3 separate regions of the Homo sapiens genome follow, and regions 2 and 3 are each linked to region 1. Evidence: promoter capture Hi-C in human tissues and cell types (Jung and others, 2019). All regions are on one chromosome and are shown on one strand. The core of a region is centred on a gene start or on the middle of the fragment in contact, and the rest is flanking DNA. Distances in the headings are between cores, read along the strand shown.

The links. The method cuts DNA at HindIII sites, captures the fragments that hold promoters and counts their contacts. A contact is called where the count stands out against the background at its distance.
Region 2: a contact is called between a fragment that was not itself captured here and the fragment with the promoter of UCHL1 in region 1, in 2 of the 25 tissues and cell types used here (dorsolateral prefrontal cortex and mesenchymal stem cells).
Region 3: a fragment that was not itself captured here is called in contact with the fragment with the promoter of UCHL1 in region 1 in 2 of the 25 tissues and cell types used here (hippocampus and lymphoblastoid cells).

Annotation. Positions count from the first base shown.
Region 1 is chr4:41,254,612-41,258,926 of GRCh38, reverse strand. It overlaps UCHL1 (ubiquitin C-terminal hydrolase L1), which reads right to left and starts at 1,999. Exons shown (of 9, transcript NM_004181.5): 1 at 1,918-1,999; 2 at 1,801-1,812; 3 at 1,190-1,318. The coding sequence starts at 1,950. UCHL1-DT (UCHL1 divergent transcript) reads left to right here and starts at 2,200. Exons shown (of 3, transcript NR_102709.1): 1 at 2,200-2,368. RefSeq lists an enhancer at 789-1,289 and a silencer at 1,124-1,883. The HindIII fragment of the contact is 4,741 bases long and covers 1-4,315 here.
Region 2 is chr4:41,884,159-41,888,473 of GRCh38, reverse strand. The region is part of intron 1 of LOC124900696 (a long non-coding RNA gene); the gene reads left to right. Among named protein-coding and RNA genes, the nearest start is that of LINC00682, 3.7 kb to the right of the region's middle. The HindIII fragment of the contact is 7,578 bases long and covers 1-4,315 here.
Region 3 is chr4:40,735,786-40,740,100 of GRCh38, reverse strand. No RefSeq gene overlaps it. Among named protein-coding and RNA genes, the nearest start is that of NSUN7, 12 kb to the left of the region's middle. The HindIII fragment of the contact is 5,767 bases long and covers 1-4,315 here.

The DNA.
Region 1 (4,315 bases), core at 750-3,249:
TGGAGACAGGAGACTGATTTGGTCAACCAGGAAGCTAATTCGACTTCCAACAATTTGGCATCTTCCTTTTAGCCCAAGTAAAAGACTTTAGCAATAAAAACATGTCAGTGAGATCATCTTATTAGCTGTAAATAAGTGTTTTTACCCACAATACTTAGCTTACTTACTAGGAGGAAGGCTTGGAACTTCCCATACTCTTGATTTTGGCTACAGATGCTTCCAGAACACCTAGCCTTAGGACGGTGCTTCAGTTAACCTCACTCTTTAGAGTGATGCCCCAAGTTTTGCTAAAGCTAATTTCAGTCACTCCCACATCAGCGGTCAAGTGACAGCAATAGGAGATAAGACAATGCCATGCGCTAATGACTGGGATTCCATACATCACAAGACTGCAAATATCCTAGCTATCCTTTAAAAAAAAAAATCTGACGCTGTCTTTCAGATACATCTATCCATGCACACTTGTAGGAGGAAAATCATTTCAAGGGAAATGCAAAGGTGCTTTCAAAACTGAGCTAATAACCCCCTATTTCAGTTAGCTACAAGGTCAGAGATGAACAAGGATAAGTGAAGAGGAAGGAGGTTCCCACACAGAAACCATACACAAAATGATTAAGCTTTAAGAAATACATTCAAGAGGCTAAAAACCAAGTGTGCAAGTGGTGGGAGTGGAGAAGAGAGAAGAACCCCTTAAGACCATCAGAAACCCAAGTAATGGAGGCGGAGAATTAGCGAACCTAATTGTTTCCCTGCGATTTAGGTCAGCCCTTCCCCCTCCATTCTACAGCTAGGTGGGAGTCTGAGAAGCAAACAATGAGTTGACAGGTTATAGCCCTTAAAGGGAAACCAGCAGCCATTCCCCGGAACCGGAGGCTCGAAAAAGCCCAAGTTCGAGGGAACTCATGAGTAGGATGAATGATTTCCCTGGATAACGGGATAGATGGAACTGAGATACTGCCTCTCTTCCAAATTTAAGGCAATTGTGGACGGATGGGCAAGAAGGCGACAGGCACCGCTGGAACAGGAGCCCAGGGAGTAGGTACCACGAAAATGCAGGCTCCTCCCTTCCTTGTAGGCGCGCCCCGCATCACCTACAGGGGAGGGGGCGGGGCGGGGAGCCCCCGAGGACTCAAGCTGGGGAGCGGCGTGCACTGCCGGCGGCCGGCGCATCCTGGGCCCCACGCCCTACCTGGGCCGTGAGGGGAAACAGCAGCAGCAGCGCGCAGGCAGGCGCTGGCACCGAGCCCAGAGACTCCTCTTCCAGCCCCAGCACGTCCACGAAGCGCCACTGGCCGGCGACCCCCAGCCGGGACAGCACCTGCGGAGAGGAGACAAGGCGGCCAGGCGCACGGGGACACGCGGGTCGCGGGCACCTGCCAGGGGGCGGGGCCAGGAGGCGCGCGCCCTCCGCGCCCGCACCCGAGCCTGGGAGGAGCCCCAGTCCCGCCCTGCCACCCCCACCCGGGCCGGCGCAATGACACAGCACAAAGCGCGGCCCACACGTGGCGCCCGCGAAGCCCGTGCAGCCGAGTCTGTGCTGCCCGCGCCACGCCCTCGGGAGCTCCGCCTGGCGCTCGCTCGCCACGGGGCGCAGCCCCCTCCGTCTCCCCGTGACCGGTTTCGTAGAGTCACCCGCTAAATGCAGGGGCCCAGGAAAGGCGCCCAGCCCACGCCCCAGCCCGGCCGTCTCCGGTGCTCGCAGCGGGCGGCTTGGTCCCTGCCAGCAGCCGGAACCGGTGGGCGCCCCCGCCTCGGCGCTCGCGGGGGAGGGGGCCAGAGACGGCGCGAGACGCCACTCACTTTGTTCAGCATCTGAAAGGCAAATGCAAAGAAAAAGGCAAAACCGAACCGATCAGCGACTCGGCTCCCCCTCCCTCGGCCTCGCGCTCTCCGGGTAGCGGTGCACCTGGCGCTCACCTCGGGGTTGATCTCCATCGGCTTGAGCTGCATCTTCGCGGAGCGCCCGGCAGAAATAGCCTAGGGAAGACGAAAAACAGCTAGCGGAGCCGCCCAGGCTGCAGCTATAAAGCGCCGGCCAGACGCACTGTGAGGCCTGTGCAGGGGGAGCAGGGGCAGAACCAAGCGAGGGGGAAACGGACGGTCGCGGCCAGATGGGTACGAACCCCCCGTGCGCAGCGCGGAGTGGTACGGCCGGGCCCCCAAACCTTGCAGTCTCACTCGCCGGTGAGATAATCTGGTGGTTGTGGAGACGGGATTTGTTGGTGGGTGTTCCTTGAGTGTATGGAGCAGTCCTTTTGATGGAGTCTTTAATTTTGGGCGAAGTTTCTGGAAACCCATCCTTTCACCATCCCAATTACTCTAAAGCTCGAGTCTCTGAAGCATTTGAGAAAAAGCACAAATTCAACAGGTATATATTTAATACGAATGAATGTAAATGTGTGCCCCCCGCCCCAAATCTCTCAGCAGTTTGCGTTTAACCTTAGACAATTCCTCCTCCATGTTAAGTCAGACCAGTACCGAGGTTCGTTTTTAAGTGACTACCTAGAATAAAACAGAATCTGGTAGATAACAGATACTGCATTAGGAATGCTGATGTAATGTGACTCCCGCGGAAGAAATGGTTGGTCCTGGGAGAGCAGTAGAAAGCTGGGGGATGTGAGGGTAATACAAGACACAAAGAAGGCAGGCGATTGGAGACTTGAGAAAACAGATCCAGGGAAAAGATGGGTATGATTTTGAGCGAGAGGCTGTAAAAGGAAAAGCATTTTTAAAAGAATGGGAAGCTTTGAAAAATAAAATGTCTGAGTTCACCGCAGAATACTCCCAATGAAGAAGAAAGGGAATGGCAACCAAGGAAACCACTGTTCTCTAATGATCTCAGGTGATCTCTAATGATCTCTAGTCAAAAGATGGAGAGAGAAAGCATTTGCTGAAGAATGAATTTTAAAAGGGACCAAAATCTATAAGAATTGTGCCAGGAAAGCTAAGCTGCAGAACAAAGTGGGCTTGCAGAAATACTTAGGTAGCGAAGGAAGCAAGAAGGTTGAGTATTTTTTAAAAATAGGCACCGAAGAGAATAATGATGATGGTAAAAGAATAGACCTTCTATTTAGGAAGTTGAGGTTAACAGATGACAGAGGGAAGGGAGGGAATCAACATTTTTTGAGTTATTGTTTTTGGGGATCCTTTGCATGTGTCTCTCATTTAATCCTTAGAGGAGCCGTGAAGAGACTCATATTAGTGCAATTTTACAGATCAGAATCCCAGGCCTAGAGAAGTTAATTTGCTTACGGTCACAATTGAAAAGTAAAACTGAGAAGTAAACCCTGCTAAACTGGGCTCCAAGAGCCCATTCTTTATCTAAGATTCCACAACATTCTACTTCTATTTTCTTTCCATTTTTGCCATTAGAAAATGACCTTCACACACAAAAATGAGAGAGAAAAAAATTAGTAAGAGGAGCTTAATGGGTGAATCTTATGGTATGTAAATTTTCCCTCAATAAGGTTGTTAAAGAAAAAAAGAGGTGAAGGTCAAGACAAGTGACTAGGTTATATTGAATGAGTTCTTGCCTTTAGACAAAGACAAATTACATTTCCAATTTACTTCATTTATTCATTCACTCAACAAATATTAAGAACCTACTGTGTGCTGGGTGCCGAGCTTGGAAAGTTTGGAATTAGGCATACAAAGATGAACACAATAAACATGGAAATTTCCCTCATGCCGTTTTTTTGTTTGTTTGTTTTGTTTGTTTTGTTTTGAGACGGAGTCTCGCTCTGTCGCCCAAGCTGGAGTGCAGTGGCGCGATCTCGGCTCACTGCAAGCTCCGCCTCCCCGGTTCACGCCATTCTCCTGCCTCAGCCTCCGGAGTAGCTGGGACTACAGGCGCCCGCCACCACACCCGGCTAATTTTTTTTGTATTTTTAGTAGAGACGGGGTTTCACCGTGTTAGCCAGGATGGTCTCATCTGCTGACCTCGTGATCCGCCCGTCTCGGCCTCCCAAAGTGCTGGGATTACAGGCGTGAGCCACCGCGCCTGGCCCCCTCGTGCTGTTTTTATCAGTCATAAGAGTTGTATGAAAGGGAGCAGAGATCAGGAGCACCTAACCTAGTGGAGGGGATCAGGAAGGCGTCCTGAAGGAAGTGACATTTAAGCTAAGGGCTGATCGGCAAGCAGACGTTAGCAGTTATAAGTGATTGCCAAAATAACTAATAAAAGCAGTCATGAAATCACTGTCAGAAATATTTGTTGAAGGCATTAATTCATTCACATTCATATACATATATGGCCTACTGTTTGCCAGGAAGCATCAGAGCAGTGAATGAAACAACTCCCTGCTTACAAAGAGAT
Region 2 (4,315 bases), core at 963-3,462, 630 kb before region 1:
TATCTGGAGGAATCTTAGAGTTCTGTTTTTTTATTGAATTTGACATATTATGAATTCAATTCTTATTGTTCATGGAATATAATTCATATTAATTGAAGAAAAATAATTCAGACTATGGCCTGAAATTACAAAAGCATGCTAACTTTCATGTGAGCTGACAGTTCTTGTCCACCAGGGGGCAGTCCACTCATTGAAACCAAGGACAGAAATAACTAGAATAAATAAAACCTGTAACTTAAAAATAAAACGCATTTTAAATAAGTTTCAGTTTCAATAAAACTTTTATAGAGATACAATGACATAGAAGAACCAGTCCTTGTTCCTGCCTTCTGGTAGACAGACAATCAAGAGACAGAATAAAGCAAAAGGTAGTACTAATCTACAATCCAGTCTCAGGGCCATCTAGATAAATGAGGGGCCTGGGGGCACTCTATGAAGTGAACTGAACCAAGGCCAAATTCACTGTACAGAACAGGATTTAAATGCAAGAGAACTAGTGACAATCAGAGGGAGTATTAAGTCTTCAATTACATAGATGTTCATCAAAGGGCATTTTATAATGCCTGCCTCCTCTAAAATGTGGTGAAAGCAGCAGTAGCTGTAATAGCAGAACTATGAGCTTCTCAGTTAAGAAATGCATCCCCAAGTTCAGGACTACTGGTCCTTATCTTGGCAAATCTAAAGGACTTCACATCCGAATAAATAAATGACTGTTTCATATGCCAAGAAATGACATTTAGCCTTAAAATAGATACATCCCACTGCCAGAATACAGAAACCATACTTCATGATAGAATAAAATCAAACATTTTAAACTCTGAGCTTTCTTTGCATCTTGGTGAAGCCGATTTGGTGGATTAGATTTTTCCTAGCAAGGAACTAAGGAACAGTTGAGTTCAAACATACTATTACATAATCTGCAATTATCCAGGAACCAGTGGAGTATAGTAGAAAGATCAATGACCTTGGTGTTAAAAGAGCCAGTCATAAATCTTAGTGTCTCTACTTTTCATTTATATACCCTTGGGCAATATATATGTAAGGGAGTTTTGCAAAACTATGTGGAGCACGATATCATACATTCACAAGGTTTTATTAATTACAAAGGACTTTTCAACACAGTGTTTCCTCATAAGATCTTCCTTAGATGGAATTTTGCAAGGGTTAAATGAGATAATTCACATAAAGCACTTGGAGGGTGCCTGAGAATCAGAATAAGAATGCAATGAATGGCAGTTATTATTAATAGTAGTAGTATTAGTTTGACCCTCATGCCAATCCCGTGTGCTAGAGATTGTCATCTCCACATTGCGAGATTTTAAACAACTGCAGCCCAAGAGAAATAAAGTGACTGGTCTAAAGTCACAAAACAGGAATATTAGAGCCTGGACTGAAGCTCATGCATGTTTTCCCTTTTCCAGCATACATTCAGGACACTATTTACAATGAGCTTGAGCAGTATCACAAGGAAGAGGGTTTTTTCCCTTTGAAGTGAAAGCCCAAGTGGATGCCCCACCATTGACTTTCCCACTCTTCTGGTCCTGGCCTCGTAGAGTCCCTGACCCCAAGAGCTCCTTCAATGCATCAGTATAGAACAGAGGCTCTTAACCTTCATTGCACATAAGAATGCTCTGGCGAGTTTTTAAAAGTACTGAGTCTCAGACCCCAAAGCAGTCTAATGAAATCGGAATGTTCTGTAGGACATTTCTTCCTCGTCCACTCTAGCCACAGTTACTATGCCTGAATCTGGAACTCAAAGTCATTTCCCCCAACTCCAAACACAGCACCCTTTCTGCTGCCACACGTGAACACTGTCAGCCCCAAGAAGGGAGCCACCAATTACAGAAAAACAAGACTTTAAAAAATGGAAGATGTCAAAGAGATGGATTGCCAGGAAAATATAAGGGGTTTAGGGGACAAGGTGCCTGAGGAGGGGTCAATCTAAAGAGAATGAATAGACATGCAGGTATTGGCTCACTTTTCCAGACATGGGGGATGCATGTAGCATGAATCATCCCCCTAAACTGGATACAAAAAAAAAAAGAACTAGTATACTGGTTGACTGCATCGTGTCTTTGTGGAAATAGGGCAGAATCAATCGGCATTGGCCAGGCTCAGTGGCTCACGCCTGTAATCCCAACACTTTGGGAGGCCGAGGCAGGCAGATCACCTGAGGCCAGGAGTTCAAGACCAGCTTGGCCAACATGGTGAAACCCATCTCTACTAAAAATACAAAAATTAGCTGGGTGTGGTGGTGAGTGCCTGTAATCCCAGCTACTCGGGAGACTGAGGCAGGAGAGTACTTGAACCTGGAGGCAGAGGTTGCAGTGAGCCAAGATCACACCACTGTATCCCAGCCTGGGTGAAAGAGTGAGACTCCATCTCAAAAAAAGAAAAAAAAAAAAGAATCAATTGGCATTCCAGGCAACTCTCAAATGAAACTTCCTTGATAGTGATTGCTATTGAACACAGATGTGTGCTTCTGAGGCGGAGAAGGGGTGGTAAATTTTTTGTACTTCATAAGAGTATAACAGAGTAATCAATCTGAATGTGAATGTCTAGTAGAATCCATTAACCAACATATTTTTACTAGTCAAGCTAATGGATATCCTTCTTAGCTCCAAACTCACCTTTGAGAAAATGCATGCCACTGAGGTCAAGTAATCCTGATAAATTGAGATCAGATTCATTGTCTAGATAACCATAAAATATGGAGATCTCTTCTCATGATCTTCCAATGACAGTCTACCAAGCCCTCTCCTTATCCCCCATCCCCAAATGCAGCAGGCACTGTTTCTTGCTGGCAGTGGGATCAGAACCACTGTCAAGAGATCAGAGGATTAGAGTGGCAAGCTCTGGTCAGAACAGTGAAGTTTTCCAGATGTCCAGGCTGCGAATGCTGGCAGGATTCTCACTTCTTTTCAGGGCTGATATTGGAGGTGGAATCCTCCTCCTTAATGTAATTTCTCCCCCAGATCTGGCAGCAAGTTCTCAAGTTTTGTCTCAAGTGGGAGAAGTCCAAGTTATGTCACTGTTCAAAAAATATTTATTTCTTCCCAAAACCCAACAAGAAAACTCTACTCTGTCGCCTCATAGGTATGTTTCCTTGCCCTGTGCCAGGCCTCAAATGTGTGGGCCCTTTTTCAGGTTGTAGTGCAGCTCCTGCTCGGCTTCTGGGGTCTGTAAGTTACTCTGTCTTGGGTTAGCCATTGCCTTTTTATGCAGAGTGCTGCCTTGTATGCGATCAGCTAGAAAAATCTTAAAAAAAAAAAAAAGGTTGGAGGGGGCATAGCATTCTCACTTCAGAGGGATAAAGACGAGAAGAACAAAAGTTTTAGGCAGATGACAATGGATCCTGTCAATTAGACTAGGTGAAGTTAAAGCAAATGAATGCTTTACTGAGGAAGATGGAACATGGGGAGGGAAAGAAAACGAGGCTGGAGGAATCCAACTACAATGGGAGTGACACTGATTATCCGAAGAGACCTTTAAGAGCACGTGCGCCAGTCCCAGCAATGCCCTGATAAAGAGCTACAATACAAAAGCCTGCGCCTTGCTCACCCAAGGATCACAAATAACCAGAATTCCCAGGAAAAACTCATGTTTCAATCTAGCAGGAGCCCAACTAAATACAACCAAATGCCAAGCTGGGCACTCTTCTGGGGGAAATCAAAGGGATGGGAACATGAGTGGCAAGAGGAACTCAGGGTCCCTTTTTAATGTCTCAATAGAAGAAAGGAAAAAATAGGCAGACCTAAGACACACCCTTGTTTTAAAATTTTTATCACAAAGGGCAGGATGGGATATGTCCATTCAGGGAGCATCACTTTGCTCCACTGGTTTCACCAGCAGGGGCTGCTTGTGTGTGCAAGGAGGGGCCTGAGATATATGGCTGTGCAGATCACATCATTTGTAGTGATTTATTGGTTAAGAAATAAAGCATGATGGGTGGGTGTGGCTACCATAGGGTAATCACACCCCCAGGGTGAGACTATACTACACACTACCAAATTCCCCCCAGGGGTGTGATTAGCTCATAAAACCCTGCCTCCCAGAACTGCCAGACTCTTTAATGTCATTTATTTATTAAAAAAGAGTGGGCCAGTTGAATCTGTTCCATACAGTGTGACTGTCACTGAGGCTGGTCTTTCTGTAAAACAAGAGAAACAAATAAATCCGAAGCCCAAGGATCTGCTATCTGCTAGTGCTTCCTGTTGAATTTTGAAATTCAGCCCGTGGAGACCAAAATAGCACAAAATCGACCTTACCAGTCCTTGTGGACTTTTGTGCTCAAGGCCAATAGCCATTCGGACTG
Region 3 (4,315 bases), core at 980-3,479, 520 kb after region 1:
AAGAAAGAAAAAAGAAATCTTATTTTCAAAGACTAAGATAAAATTTATTATTAATCACTGACATTTCTATTCATATGTAAATGAAGCACTATAATGCATGACTTCACTTAATCCCCTTTTTTCTACTTCGTTTTGCCAATAATTTTTTCACAAATTTATTAGCCCAACTATCTTGAAATGAATGTTTTCAGAGGAAGGAATTCTAATGTGGTGAAACCCAAATATAAATTGCAATATTTACTTACCAAAAAAGGATAAATATATTTAATTTTCTAAAGTAGGAGAAGAGATTGTTAAAAGGAGTTTTGAAAAAAATTAAGAGTATATGTTTGAACTTCATGCTGAAGTAAAATTCCTGTGAAAGTTTCAAGGAAACTGAAGGGTTAAACACTATAAAATGCTAAGTGGTTCTGTTCTTACCTTAGGGCTATATTTATATATTCATAATAAAATTAACTTTGGTCATTTTTCTAGTTAATTTGATCAGTATCTATTGTTGGTTCAAATAATCTAAGGCTTAAAATGAATTTTTTCATTGTCATTGGATTATCTAGATCAACCATTTTGCATTGCTGATAACTAGATTACCTAGATAAACTAGATAAATGCCAAATCTGTAATTCACATTCTGTTAATAGATACCACCTGTTCATAATGTCTCCACTATTATGAACTCTATTACAAATTATTTATTGTAAGTGTTCCAAAGCTTTGTAAGAATGGATCAGATCTCTCTTAAGTAAACATACTTTTCTCTATATAACATAATGCCTATTAAGTATCGTTCCCATAAATTCAGATGATATCATGATTAGCTCTTTAAAAATATAACATTGATCTCATATGCAAGAAAAAAGTTCATAAGATATTATAATATTCTAAAAGATTATAAAGTGTATATTAAATATAAAATATAAGCCCTTTTCATCTATGTTTTAAAATCACTTTAAAATTTTGAATCCTTTTAAAAAATTATTATAATGCTGGGTGCAGTGGCACACCTATAGTCCCAGCTACTTGGGAGGCTGAGCTGGGAGGATTGCTTGAGCTGAGGAGTTCAAGGCTAGCCTGGGCAATAAAGTGAGACCCCATCTCTCTATATAAATAAATCAATAAATATTTATTAAGAGAAGAATATTAAACCAGGCTTTTCAGTGACTCATTTAAGATTTCTTAATTTTTTAAGACCCAGCAGGATTTTGCCCTTGTTTATGTGAAAAAGAGTTAGAGAAATACTCTTTTTATTATTAAAAGTTTTTTTAGAGATTTAAAAAGATTATTTAAATTTGTATTATGAAAACTTCTATCAGATTAAGTGAAGATTTACTGAACATCTACTATCAGTAAGACAAAAATAAGACACAGTTCCTAGTCTTGTGGATACTTACAGATGCAACGGGGTGGGCAGAAAATTATAGTGCAGTATAGTGATACTGGTGCCTAAAGGGCCCAATGGAGCAAACAGAACCTCTACCCCAGATTTGGGAGAAGGGAGCAGGAAAGGTCTATTTAGAAAAAGTCACCTGATAGGCCAGGTGTGGTGGCTCACGCCTGTAATCCCTTTGGGAGGTCGAGGCAGGTGGATCACCTGAGGCCAGGAGTTTGAGACCAGCCTGGCCAACAAGACAAAACCCCATCTTTACTAAAAATACAGAAATTAGCTGGGCGTGGTGGCACGTGACTGTAATCCCAGCTACTCAAGAGGCTGAGGCAGGGGAATCGCTTGAACCTGGGAGGCAGAGGTTGCAGTGAGCCAAGATGGTGCCCTTGCACCACTCCAGCCCGGGCGATAGAGCGAGACTCTTGTCTCCAAAAAAAAAAAAAAAAAAGAAAAGAAAAAGAAAAGAAAAGATCACCTGATAGAACCTATAGCCTTCAGTAGAAGTTTGCATCCAACCCATGGCAACTCACCAGTAGAGAGTGAGCTGGAGAAACATATTTCTGATCTCACTTTTCCTGCTCTCCCCATCTGCTGCAATATCTACGATTGGCTGATTCCAACCCACAGTCTGAGAGCAAGGGAGCCCTTTGATGCATTCCATTCAGGGCACCCTCCTGGGGCACAGAGCATTGGAGGATGGAGACCACTTCTAATATGACATATACACTCTTTTTGTGAATGCCACATTAAAATAGTGCCCTTCACATTGTATGAGAACATTCTAGCCTAATTCGTTTGCAATGCAGGAAAGCCATTATTATAGAATAATCATGGTTTCTCAGCACATTCTTTGAAGGATTCTATTAAACCAGTGTGGAACTAAGAATGAATAGTATACGACAACAGTTTTTAAAAATCCAAAATTGAGTTGTACGTTATGTATTAATAGAAATGTGGGAAATGCAACTTAATTATTATATGTTTCTTGACGGTGGTTCCTGAGTTTTTCACCGGAGCCTAAGCTTGATTGTTTTTGGAGGTATTCTGGCATTAGCAAAGGGTTGGTAAAATTGTGGCAGATCTAAAAATTCCACTGAATCAATTATTTCATTGGGAGTGTTGGGTGTGTGCTTTGGAGTCAAAACAAAGCTCATGCCTCAATGCTAAAATATTGTAGCAAATCGGACTGCATGAAAGAGGCAAAGGTATAGTTTTTATAAAGATCCCTAACCTGATGCTCAGCATACATAATCTAATGGGCATGGAATTCCTTCGCGAAATGTCAGAGTCACCTTATACTGAAATTATACATGTTGCCTTGGTATTTAAATGCTTGAGCAAATATAAAAGAAAAAATATAGAAAATTAAATTGTGATTTCTTTTTCATTTTAACATTAAAGTTAAGGATCATGAAGAATCGTATGAAATGATGGTAGAAGATATTTAATATTTTTATATAACTAAATAAAAATTATCACTGCCCCTTCCCCCCACCCCTGGCAAAAAATGAATCCAACCAGACCAGGCCAATCAAACAAACACTCAAAACAAAAGCCCTGAAACAATAATGACTTCTCACTATGTTTGGATGCACTGTTTCATTCTAAACTAGATTTGGGGAGCCATCTGCTGGCAAATTGGTAAGTTGTTTATTTTTTTTTTATTGCATGTACAGTTAGGGTTGCCAGATAATTTATAGGATGCCCAGTTAAATCTGAATTTTAGATAAACAACAAATAATTTTTTAGCATAAGCATGCCAATACAGTTCAGTATTTACTCCATATGCCAATGCTACCCTGTTTCATTTTTTATTTTTTTTGAGACAGGGTCCGGTTCTGTCACCCAGGCTGGAGTGCAGTGGCATGATCTCAGCTCACTGCAACCTCTGCCTCCCAGGCTCAAGTGATCCTTCCAACTCAGCCTCCCAAGTAACTGGGACTACAGGCATACGCCACCATGCCTGGCTAATTTTTGTATTTTTTTGGTAGAGATGGGGTTTCGCTATGTTGTCCAGGTTGTTCTTGAACTCCTGAGCTCAAGTGATCTGCCCACTTCAGCCTCCCAAAGTGCTGGGATTGCAGGCGTGAGCCGTAGAACCTGGCTCCTACCTGGTTTTAAATTTAGAATTATATGTTTCCAAGTGACTCAGAAAAAGGTTTTCTTGAAATCTGGATAGCATGATTATTTAGGATTGCTCAACTCATATGGTTCTATTCACACTGCTCCAGTTTGAACTGCTTGCCTTTCCCATTGAACCCTACATCTGACTCCTTGTCTATTCTCTTTTTCTTCTGCTTTCTCTATTCTTAATTGAGCTCTGCTTCCTAGCCTGTGTATTTCTTTTTTGCTGCTACATTCTCATGTTTAAGCAATCTGGGTCAATTACAACAGATAAATGAAAAACCAGAAGATAACTGTGTTCTGGTAGTACCTTAGTTATAGAGTCTACTTCTTTAAAAAAGTAAAATAAAAGGCAGACACATGCATATTTTATATTTGACCCTAAAAATGTCAATTTATTATCAAGCTATCTTGCTCTGACTGAAAAAATTAATAAATAAAAATTGACCAGGCATGGTGGCTCACACCTGTAATCCCAGCACTTTAGGAGGCTGAGGCGGGTGGATCACTTGAGGTCAGGAGTTCGAGACCATCCTGACCAACACAGTGAAACCCCCGTCTCCACTAAAAATACAAAAATTAGCCGGATGTGGTGGAGGGCGCCTGTAATCCTAGCTACTTAGGAGGCTGAGGCACAAGAATCACTTGAACCTGGGAGGCAAGGGTTGCAGTGAGCCCAGTGGCGCCACTGCTCTCCAGCTTGGGCGACAGAGTGAGACTCTGTCTCAAAATAAATAAATAAATAAATTTTAAAATAAAAAAAATTAGTTTTGTGTTTGAATTAGTAATATATTCACATACTCCTAAGTT